Regions from separate parts of the Homo sapiens genome. Here region 1 is linked to region 2. The links are contacts of gene promoters, found by promoter capture Hi-C in blood cells and fetal thymus (Javierre and others, 2016). All regions are on one chromosome and are shown on one strand. The core of a region is centred on a gene start or on the middle of the fragment in contact, and the rest is flanking DNA. Distances in the headings are between cores, read along the strand shown. Region 1 holds the start of LOC124904303 (a long non-coding RNA gene). Region 2 holds the start of MRO (maestro).

Region 1 (5,970 bases), core at 2,713-5,212, 200 kb before region 2:
GAAGAAAAAAACACAGTTTTTCAAATTTCTTTTAGGAGAAAAGCAAGCAAGAAATCTTGAAGACCATAGTTCCAAAGCACTCAAAGGGAGCCAAGCTACTGCCAGTTCCACATAGATCTCTGATAGGCGCAGGCAAAGACTTGAAAGGTTTATTTTCCTTTTGTTTTATTTAATGGTTTTACCTCCTATGAATAGGAGCTTTCTAAGGGTGAGGAGAATATAGAAGTTTAATCTTTTCATCCTTGGGATGGAGACAGAGTGCTCTTCCCTCAAGTAAAGGACCTCCTGGCACAAGTTAGCATCATGATATTTTAGTGTCAACCCAATGTTTTGGGTTTGGTTTGGTTTTGTTTTTTAGAGATGGAGTCTTGCTGTGTTGCCTTGGCTGGACTCAGACTCCTGCGTTCAAGTGATCCTCCTGCCTCAGCCTTCTGAGTAGCTGGGGACTACAGACATGCACCACTGCACCCAGTTTAATCCAGTGATTTTTAAAATAATTCCAGTTGCTCCTGAAAATTACTTGACATCAATTAACCTAAATATTACAAGTGATTCCCACATTCCTAAAAGCAATAAAATAAACTCTGTCATCTCTTTGGCTTAAAGTATACAGCCATAGAAATGTATTACCTATTCAAAATATTAGATTGAAACTGGATTCAAACTTGAGATTCAAAATGACTGGAATCCAGGCTGTGTCTGGAATATTCTTGTTCCTGTCCTTTAGGACTCAGTGGTCCTCTAGGAATGGTGCCCTGCTGTGTCAGAGTTGGCTGCCCTTTCTTTCTGCTCCCAGACTAGGCTGTGAGTTCCCTGAAGATAGAGGTTCTCCTTCCCCCACGTTCTCTGAGTGCCCAACACTGGGCTTGCCCATGGCAAGTGTCAGAGAAGCGAGAGATGAGGCTGGGAAGATGGATCTGGGGCCAGACAACGAAGGTAGCTGTGCTGATGAATTGAACTCCATTCAGGACCAGATATGCTTGGGATTTTTTCTTCTTTTTTTAAAATCTTATTGAGGTATAATTTACATATTATAAACTCGACGCAGTGGACAATTTGATGCATTTGGGCAAATATATGCAATGTGTAACCACCACTACCAATCAAGTATTAGAACACCTCTATCCCTCCAAAAAGTTCCCTTATGCCCCTTTGCAGTCAGTGCCACCTCCCAACCATATGTTCCTGTCCCCAGGCAACCACTGCCATGCTGTCTGTTCCTAAGGCATTTTTTCTAGAATTTCACATAAATGGAATATTTCCATGTGCAGTCTTTTGTATTTGGGTTCTTTCACTCAGTATGTTGTTTTTGAGATCCAGAATGTTACTGTGTATCAGTAGTTAGTTCCTTTTTATTGCTTAGTAGTATTTCATTTTATGTATATGCAAAGCCACAGAAACAGAGGTAGATTAACAGATCGGTGGTTGTCAGGGGAATTGGGAGGTACAGGGTTTCTTCATGAGGTGATGGAAATGTTGTGGAATCGGATAGTGCTGAGAGTTGTACAACATTGTAAATATACTAAGAGACACTGAATGTACACTTTGAAATGGTTAAAATGGTGAACTCTAGGAAAATTTTATGTTTAAAAAGCTAGATTTTAGCAAGCACCACAAGCATGTTACTAAGCGAATAATCTTTGCAGTCTCACTGACTTGATTCAAGTCCCCATGTCACTCCTTACTAGCTATGAGACCTTGGACAAATGATTCTAAGTCTCAGATTCTTCTTCTGTGAAGTAGGGGTAAAAATACAGCCCATCTCACAGAGCTGCAGTAAAAACGAAATGAGACAATGCACTTGAAGCACTTGGCATGGCGCTGACAAGTGCCTGATCAGTGGCAGCTTCTTGTTTAATCCACCTGCGCCTGCCATGTGTCAAGCCCATTACGTGTCTTCATCTATTTGATTCAACATGAAGGAGGGACTATTCCCAATTTACAAGTGATGAAACTGAACCGTTAAGAGATTAAAAAGTTACTTGTCCCCATATTGAGGGACATTCTGTAACATAACTAGTCTATAATTTTCAAAAATGTCAATATCATAAAAGACAAAGCCTGAAAAACTGTTCCAGATCAAAGGAGACTAAATACACAGGACAAGTAAATGTCATACATGATCCTGAATTGAATCTGGGGAAAATTTTTGCTACGAAGGACCTTATTGGGACAATAGACATGATTGGAAAATAGCTTATAGATTAGACTATAGGTATATAATAGATTATAGATTAGATATAATAGACTATAGATTAGATAATAGTAAGGTTTCCTGATTTTGATAACTGTAGCATGCAGGCCAGAACTAGGGCGAGACAACAGAGGCTCCTAGGGTACAAAGTTGAAGGAAGCCCTCTTGAAGGGCCACTCACGCTCAGGCCTTGTTAGCCTCCATCTAGTTCTAGCCCTGGTGTTGTCGTTATGTAGGAAAATGTCCTTGTTTTCAGAGCTACACACTGAAGTATTGAGGGTAAAGACATGCCAGTATATGCAATTAACTCTCCAAGAATTCAGGAATAATCATCATACATAGGTAGAGCGAAAAAAATGATAAAGTATACACTGCAAAATGTTAATAGTTGGTGAGTCTAGGTAAAGTATTTACAGAAGTTCTTTGTACTATTCTTTTTTTTTTTTTTTTTTTTGAGATGGAGTCTCGGTCTGTCACCCAGGCTGGAGTGCAGTGGCACGATCTCGGCTCACCACAACCTCCGCCTCCCGGGTTCAAGCCATTGTCCTGCCTCAGTCTCCCAAGTAGCTGGGATTACAGGTGTGTGCCGCCACGCCCAGCTAATTTTTTTTATTTTGAGTAGAGACAGGGTTTCACCATGTTGGCCAGGCTGGTCTTGAACTCCTGACCTCGTGATCCACCCATCTCGGCCTCCCAAAGTGTTGGGATTACAGGCATGAGCCACCATGCCCGGCCCTTTGTACTATTCTTGCGACTTTTCTGTGAGTTTGATTTTTTTTTTTTTTAATTTTAGGTCACTTGTCCCTGTGATGAGGTTCACAGCAGAGCTGGAATTTGAACTCTCTGCCCACAGAGTGTGGCATGGTGCTATCTGCAACCCAAATAGCTCTACCCTGAAGCCAGGGCCTGGGAGGGCCTGCTGATCAGATGCCTCAGAGCAGCATTTCTCCTACTTTAACATGCACACAGATCACTTGGGGAGCATGTTAAAAAGTAAATCCTGATTCCTTGGATTTGAGGGTGGGCTGGAGACTCTTCATTTCTAATAAGCTCTCAAGTGAGGCCAATACCGCTGGTTCCAGAGGCAAAGCCCTAGAATCCAGGGTCTAGAACTGTGTAGGACCTAAATCTAAAATGTACTGGGGAGGGGAATAATGGAACACTAAATTATTTAGGAGACAGTTCACAGTCATGATTCTACCCACCTAAAATGCTTTGTGATGAAAGTTAAATTTTCGGACATCGTTTCCGTTGAATAAACATGTAGAGTGAGCCTACTGGTTGCCATATCTTAGAATGCAGAATTGAATGGCAATGGATATGAACTGAAACACAGTTTATCCAGTCTTTCCCTTCCCCCAGTAGACGCCAGATCAGACTTACATCTAGACAGATTTTAGTCCCTCAGGTGAACTTGGCATCTAACGGTTTTCCTCAGTGTCACAGGTACAAGAGAGAACATCACAAGCAGGGAGTGCTGGAAATGACAAGTTCATCCAAAACAAACCTGCCAGGCACGGTGGCTCACGCCTGTAATCCCAGTACTTTGGGAGGCCGAGGCAAACCATTTGAGGTCAAGAGTTTGAGACTGGCCTGGCCAACATGGCAAAACCTCGTCTCTGCTAAAATACAAAAATTAGCCAGGCATGGTGGTATGTGCCTGTAATCCCAGCTACTCAGAAGGTGGAGGCAGGAGAAGCGCTCGAGCCAGGGAGGTGGAGGTTGCACTGAGCTGAGATTGCACCATTGCACTCCAGCCTGGGCTACAGTGCTATGGTGTCATTTCAGTGATAAAAGTTAATGAATATCTGTGTTACTTTCAACTCTGAGGAGGAAAACAATCTACCTAAACACCACCAAATTATTTCCATATTCTTTAAGCATTTTTCTTATTTATTTATTTATTTTTTTTTGAGAGGGAGTCTCACTCTGTCACTCAGGCTGGAGTGCAATGACATGATCTCGGCTCATTGCAACCTCCACCTCCCAAGTTCAAGCAATTCTCCTCCCTCAGCCTCTTGAGTACTTGGGATTACAGGTGCTCACCACCACACCTGGCTAATTTTTGTATTTTTTAGTAGAGATGGGGTTTCACCGTGTTGGCCAGGCTGGTCTTGAACTCCTGACCTCAGGTGATCCGCCCACCTCGGCCTCCCAAAGTGCTGGGATTACAGGCATGAGCCACCGTGCCCGGCCTCTTTAAGCATTTTTCTTGGGAGACAACCTTGAGGAAAAATAATTTTAGCTTAGACCAGAATCACAGTTACTATTTTTTTTTAAACTTTTAAGAATAATCAAGAGTTACCTTTTTGAGGTAAGAATTAGGCCCAGCAGATGGGTATTGAAGAGAGAAGGAGACTGTGAGCGCTTGGGTGAGCACAGACCTCATGTCTGCTCCTCAGGACAAACTGTGTGTAAGGGGCAGAGAAGGGAGGGGATTCCAAGACCCAGCCCCTCCTCCAAGGAAAGATGGAAAATCCATCACTGCTCTGAGGCTCCCAGAACACTCGCCCCTCTAATGTCTGCTGTCCCTTTCTCCCAGAGCTGCTGCTGCCTCTCTGCTTTTCCTTCCTCCCCTTTCCTTTCCCTAGCCGACTTTTGCTTCCCTGGCACTTCTGACATGCTTCTCCCAGCTGCTGCCCTTGAACTGCGGCCCCCTTCCTTCCCTCTGTGCTGTACCACCCAGGGGAGCCGGCTCCCAGGATGAGCTGCAGCACAGTGCTTTCTCAGGTTGAGGGAGCCTCCTCCAGGGCTCGGGTACCAAGGCATCTACATCTTTAATCAGGAAGGAAATAGCACCACATAACCCTGGGCATAGGTGTTTCCCTCCCTCCTCCTTTTCAGGGAGGCTGGTTCCCAGGTCACCTCCTACCTGGTTCAACAATAACATCCCCCATCTTTAAGAAAAATGCTGTGGTTCAAAAGCCCCTCTGGGCCCAGCTGCCTTCCCCAGTACACAGATCATCTCCATTGCCAGGGAGCTGCAAAGTGGCTCTGCACTTGCCAGAGGCTACACTGGTTAGTTAGAATGCGGGTCCTGACTGCAGGCCTAACCACAGTCCACAAAAGCTCCCCAGAGAGTGTTCTTTGTTGGTAGGTTTGAAACAAAGGCCCAGGAATGCGGCTTACACAGTCCTGACCCTACAGCTGGCCCTCCATCCTCACTGCTCTCCCAGGAGAAGATGGGAACTGGCTTCTTCAGCCAAGGACAAAGCCACGGTGGACAATCGCAGACCCAGGCCCAAGGTTTGCCCTGTCTCCTGCCTCCATCTTTACAAATCTCATGCATGAGGCCAACTCCCCTCCTACTGATGACTCCATCTCCTCCGTTGATCTCATCCAAACAACCTCAAGGCACTCCACTGGCACTTGATTTTGTAGTCTTGTGTGTATACATTCCACTTCATTATGAGACGGTAGATAGAGGCTAAGACAATGGATGAGCTTTGAAGTCAAATGGACAAGCATTCAAATCCTGGCTCTATCTCTGTGCCCTCCTGGCAAGTTACTGAACCTGTCTCACCTTCAGTTGCTTCGGCTATAAAAGTAGGTATAACACTTGTTCAAATTTTTCTTTTCCTAAGATTTAAATGAAAATTCTCATCCAACAAAAATTTATTGAATTTCTACTCTTTGCCAGGCACTGCTCTAGATGGAGATACAGCGTGAGACAAATTTCCTGGTCCTTAAAGAACTTATTAAATACATTCTTTTTTTTTTTTTTTTTTTTTTTTTTGAGACAAAGTCTTGCTCTGTCACAAGGGTGGACTGCAGTG
Region 2 (6,174 bases), core at 795-3,294:
GCAATCAAATTATCAAACTTGCCCTCTAATTTCCAAAGAACTGTACTGTGACCCAGGGCCACATAAGGAGAATCTTAGACTCTTGTGGGCATCATGCGTTGATTTTGATGCTTCCCAAGTTTGTGCTGTGTCTGGGATTCTCTAGGGGCAGTTAGCTGCATCCAGGCCGTTTATGAGAAGTGTTTAGTAGAGCTGAGGTCAGCACAGTGCAAGTATCAGAAAGGCTCCTGGATATCAATTCCAGTTCTGGCCCTGATGTTCTTTGTAGTTTTAAGTCAAACAGGAAAATTTATCTGCATATTAGTTCTCCTATTTAACAGTAGAGAAGATACTATTTCTCTGTCAAATATCTTAAAACATGAATACAAAGAAACTTTAGACACAAGGGGTTATTAATAGTTTGTTGTGTTTCTGTTCATGGGGAGGAGGGGATGTAAATTTCAGTTCTGATTCACAAAGGAGATTTTGCAGAGAATCTTTACAATCATACTTTGGGCTTCCTTTCTCCAGTCTCCTCTGTTCTTCGGATAATCTTATTACCTTTTTGGTCATTCTAAGCACTACATGGATTAGTTCAGTATATAGATTATGGCCGTATAAACCTCATTCTCGCTCTTGGCAGATAACCTAACTCTGGTTTTACTGAAAAGATTAAAGCTAATTTGGAAGAATTGAACTCGCCCATTCCTCTCAGTTTTGTGTTGATGTATCTTCATCTCTGTGGCTGCCTCCCAGTTGCAGGCAGAGGCAGCCATCTTTCTTCCTCCTCCAGAGCTAACCCTTTCCCTCGTGCCCTTGATGCCCCCTCCACCTCTTCCTATTACCACTACTTGGCACCAGCCACATATTAGGGCTCCCTTGCAACCACTTTCAAACAAGGCCAGGCTTTATTCCATTTCAAAAAGCACACAAGAAAACCAAAATGCTTTTGCCTGACCTTGCTGTCTCTTCTAGTCTATTTATTGCTTTCCTTTTGCAGCAAGACATCTCAATTTCCTCTTTCCTCATAGCCCCTTAGTTTTGCAGTCTAGCTTCCTTTCTCTGTCACTCTATTGAAATTGTGTCCTCAAATGTCACAGTGGTTCCCTTGTAACTTAATCTGAAGAGGGTGGTGTTTTAGCCTCATTCTTCTTATTTTCTCAGCAGCATCGATTTTCTTTCTGCCTTTTTCTTTCATCTTCCACTCTGACATAGTTCTCTGGTTTATATTTTTCTGTTTATCTCCTGGGTTTTCTAGACCAGTCCAGTGCATAGCATCATGGCTGAGTCCAAGCTCTTACATTAGCCTGCCTGTAGCTGAATTTTAACTGCCACAAATTAACTGCATGACCTTTGTCAAGGTAATCTCCCTGTGCCTCAGTTTCTCCAGCCTTAAAATGGAGACTATAGTAGGAGTATTAACCTTTGGTTTGATGTAACAATTGAATGAGATAGTCTATGTAATATTTATCACAACATTTGGCACACAGAAGTTTTAATTGAATGTTATCTATTAGCATAACAATAAGTGCCTCTGTCTTTGAAAATATAACTGTTCTTTTTTCCTTTCAGGACATATTTTCTCCCTTTATGACCCAATGCAGAGCGAGACGATAACTAATTATTGTTAAATAGATTTATGCACGTGTTTGGAGAGTCAGGGAAGGAGGGCTGATGAGAGAGAGAGGCTCCTAAATTCTGCAGGTGCTGTAATTCCCCGGTTTTAATTTTGCTTTGCTTTTTACCAATAAATCATTTTGAGAGCTTAAATCGCTCCTTTCGGGACATACGGTGTTTCTTGAGCAGGAAGGGACGTCAACGGTTAAAGCTCTTGTTGTTGGTGCAACAATCAGCCACGATGAGGCTGCTTGGCATGGAACACAGTGTCCCATCCTTAGATTAAATGCGCTCTAACAGGATTATGTAAGGAAGGAGGCAGCCACGGCGGCGGCTTTGTGCAGGGGTCGCCTGGAACCCGTCCATTGAGTCATGCCGCCATCTCGCGGCCGCATGGGGAACGGGCCTTGGCAGGGAGGTTTTGTTTGGTGCAGAGGAAAGGTCCCCAGAATTGCCATCTGCAGAATTTCTGCAGAAAGTGTCGACCAGGCTGGCATGAGGGAAGAAGGAGGGGAAATCACAGCAAGGAGAAGGAAAAACACCTCAGCATGGCGTGGGGAAGCAAAGGTAGCAAGTCATGCTTGTGCCACCCTACAATATTCTTGTCGGTTTCATTCCAGAACAATTCCCTCCCCTGCCCAAATACTCTATAAACTTTGACTTTCCCCTCTTATTTGATTCTCACTTTCCAACACTCTGTGCCGACCCGTTATCCTGGACAGACCCTGCGTCACCTCCTAATTTCCCTTCTTGTATGTTAGGAATTCAGGGCTGGGAAAATTTAGCCGAGTCATCACATTTGGCTACTACCCGGGAAAGCAGCCCTCCCGAGTCAGGAACGGGCTCCGGTTCATCACGTGGCAGCCGCCTGCAGGAGCCGCAGGTAAGGGACACTGTTGGCCGGGGCAGCCAGATGCAGCGGGAGGCGTCCTGGCTGCACTTGGGTTCCCAAAACCTTTCTGGAATGTCACTCTGGTCACCAGTATGGGAGCTCGACCTCTAGGGGGTAGGATTTGGTAATGTTCTCTTTGTAAAACTGAAGTGGGCAATGTTGACCAGGAAGCTGATTTTGTTTGCTTTTCACAAACTATGTTAATCGATCAATAGTTGGGTTATAGATCATTCTATTGTCAGCAATATAATAGAATGGCAGGGACTCAGGGAAGATATTGACACTTTAAACTGAAATGTCTATGCGGTCTGTCTTCCCTCGTTCAGCTCACAGGACATTGCCTGGGAGCTGAACCTAGGCTTATAGCACAGTGACTGAAAGGATATCTTTCAGAGTCCTAAAATCTGCTCTGCCAGTATTTGACTTTGAGTTAATTGTTCAACATTACTTTAAGCCCAGTTTCTTCTTTTCTAAAATGAAGACGATTTTTTTAATATTAATTTTTTTTTTCATTTTTTTGAGACAGGGTCTTGTTGTGTTGCCCAAGCTGGGGTGCGGTGGCCCGATCTCGGCTCACTGCAACCTCTGTCTCCTGGGTTCAAGTGATTCTTCTGCCTCAGCCTCCTGAGTAGCTGGGACTACAGGTGTGCACCACCATGTCTGGCTAATTTTTGTATTTTTAGTAGAGGCGGGGTTTCACCATGTTGCTCAGGCTGGTCTTGATCTCCTGACCTCAAGCAATCTGCCTGCCTCAGCCTCCCAAAATGCTGGGATTTATAGGCATGAGCCACCACACGCAGCCTACTATTGTCATTTATAAGTTCAGTGTTGGAAGGATTTTTAAGCAATCTAACAGTTTCTTCTGCTCATTTTACAGATGAGATAAAATCAAAGTGTTTTATAATTTTGGCCTTCATAATATACCTTTTGGCTTCAATAAATAAAAGGATTATTGACCAAAAATCTAATATTTTGAGTCAGAATCATTCAAGTTTGCAAAAGCAGATGGGAGTCAGTGTAAAGCATAAAACAGTCTTCTAAGTTACCCCAAATCCATGTATCTTCAGTAAGATCAGGTAGAGCACAACCTGGCAATGAACACAAGCCCCAGCCGGGGTCTTGGGGTTCGTGAAAACCAAGGGGTCTGCACATAGCTCACTCAGGGGTATGTTCCAGAGGAAGAAGAATTCGTTGAAGAACGTGTGCAGAGATGAGTAAAACTATAAGCAGAGCTGTGTCTTTGGCTTCCAAATGGCCAGGTGACCTCCTGGTCTTGGTCATACAAGGCTAGGCATATGTGGTGACCATAGAAACCCACCAGAAAATGTAATTCTCCTAGGAAAGAATGCCTGTCTTACGGGTGAGAGGGCTTGGAGAAGGAGTTAGAACATCCTAAGAAATCTTGGAATCTGTATACTACGTTCATTCACAGTGTGTTTAAAACGATCCTCTCTGAGATCCTGTGTTGCAACAGATGAGAATGATCCTTTTGTTTTTGTTGGATTGGGTGTAAAGGACTTCATGTTTTAGAAAGGAGGGAGGCACTGCAGGCAGGAAGGAGGGCATGGGGCGGGGGGTGGGAGTTCTTTAAGAAGCTGCAAGTACAAGAAACACAAGGCTCCAGCGAGGGGCCTTGTGACCTTGATTTAACTCCTAATTTGTTTTATTTTTTAATGAAACTTTTAACTGAAGAATAGCATCCTAGAAAAGTTGCATAAATCATAGACAAACAGCTGCTGTGATTTTAATTTTATTTTTAAAGTGAAATTCAAAGTGCTTCACAAACATATGGTATCAATCTCTTGTTCTCTGCAAAGACACTGACCTCTTTCTCTTTCTCATCCCTCGGCCCCAGCTCCCTCCCTGACTTCCATGGTTTCTGCTACTGCATGGGCTCGGATTAGCTTTATTTAATTTCCAGGATAGAGGTTCTTCTATACCAACAGGCGTGTAGCATCACCAGGCACCACATACAAAAAGTGCAATGCTCAGGCCCGACACTCCCTGAGATTCAGATCCAATAATTCTGGGGCAGGCCTGGAGTTTATTGTTATTATTATTATTTATTTTTATTTTTTAGAGACAGGATCTTGCTCTGTCAACCCAGCTGGAGTGCAGTGGCGCAATCATGGCTTACGGCAGCCTCAGACTCCTGGGCTCAAGGGATGCTCAGCCTCCCAAAGTGCTGGGATTACAGGTGTGAGCCACTGCACCCACCTCTGGCTTGGAGTTTGTAACACGTACCCCGGGGAATTCTGATATAGAAGGTGCAACCAACACTGAGAAATGCTCTACTTTTCCTGCACCCAAGATTGAGATGATCCCTGACAACCTGTAAGATTAAACCACATCACAGTTTTTCTCTTGTGATGGGGAGGTAGGGTTTGCTAGAAGAGGTAGTGAGCTCAAGATGTAACTCTGTGAGTTTCTCTAATCACAGATCGAATCTTCCAGGTGGAGCCACTCAGTTCTCATTTACTTTGCCGTGCATGGGAGCATGACCTTGAGTTCTACTTACGCCTATGAAGGCGATGCTGGCTGCTTGGTTTCTGAAGCCTGGGGAAGTTGCCTTGGCTGGCTAAAGCCCTTAGCTGTTATGCTAATCTTGCAAGAGAAGTCAAGCAGAAAGAACAGGGTAGCAGGTTTGTTTTCTTTACCAATGGAAAGGAGCTTCAGGCATGATTTTCTTATGCCTTGGAACAGAGATACCAGCTGTTTTATAATGAGGCCCACACCCTCCTTGGTGAGTGGGCCCTCAGCTTGAGGGAGTTTTGCTTCTTTTATTTTGATTTTGAAATTTGAGATTTTTTCATTTGAAGGTAATCTTAATGCTATTAAATTCATAAATATGCTAATTTAAATACCCAATCCTATTTATTTAAAATAGACGTTGCAAGCGTACAAATATTCTCTCCACATGTCAGCACCCATTTAGATCATGGTTTGGAAATGGGGAGAATAGAATTCCCTTAAACTGCAAGTCAGCTGGTGTTTCTTTACAGCTAACGTTAGCAAAATTTATGCAAAGCAGTAATTCACAATGATCTTCTTTATTTGTTAACCCACAAGGAAACACCCTCAAAACTATTCTGTTAAAGTGTCTGTTCAGAAATGTGGAAAAACTGAACTATATAAATATTGAAAAGTTAAAAATTCCTTAATTTTTTATTCTTGGAACCACTACCACAATTTACAGGGCAATATACCTGATGTAATGAAAAGAAAAAGAAAAAGAAAAAGCTATAGCAGATAAAAGACCATAGGGATGTTCATCTAGCCAATGCTACATTGCATTATCAATAGCTGCACTTTTTGCAAACTGTGGCTATGACAGTCCTGAACAAGAAAGGTTTTCTGTTTAAGCTGCAGTAACTTTTCTAACTATGTATCATCGTTTCTTCCGTGGCAGATTTTTAGTTCCTAATGCATTTGGGACAACTGTTTCAAGGTAACTTGCTGCTTTCCCAAAACTTCTTGTTCTTTCTCCTGCTAAGAACTGTATCCCTTTTCTGCTGTTTTTATTTTTTTATTTTTTTTGGAGACAGAGTCTCACTCTACCCCCCATGCTGGAGTGCAGGGGCATGATCTTGGCTCATTGCAACCTCTGCCTCCCGGGTTCAAGCGATTCTCGTGCCTCAGCCTCCCAAGTAGCTGGGATTACAGGCACCCGCCACCATGCCCAGCTA

What was found. Contacts are between HindIII fragments. The CHiCAGO score rates a contact against its expected background, and 5 or more counts as called.
Region 1: a fragment that was not itself captured here is called in contact with the fragment with the promoter of MRO in region 2 in 1 of 17 cell types (neutrophils); the score reaches 5.5 in neutrophils.

What each region holds. Positions count from the first base shown.
Region 1 is chr18:51,016,643-51,022,612 of GRCh38, reverse strand. All of the region lies in intron 1 of LOC107985152 (a long non-coding RNA gene), which reads left to right. LOC124904303 (a long non-coding RNA gene) reads left to right here and starts at 4,327. Exons shown (of 2, transcript XR_007066372.1): 1 at 4,327-5,740; 2 at 5,835-5,970. The HindIII fragment of the contact is 8,731 bases long and covers 1-5,970 here.
Region 2 is chr18:50,815,886-50,822,059 of GRCh38, reverse strand. MRO (maestro) reads left to right here and starts at 2,044. Exons shown (of 8, transcript NM_031939.6): 1 at 2,044-2,163; 2 at 2,358-2,479. RefSeq lists enhancers at 1,840-1,889, 1,726-2,359. The HindIII fragment of the contact is 17,012 bases long and covers 1-6,174 here.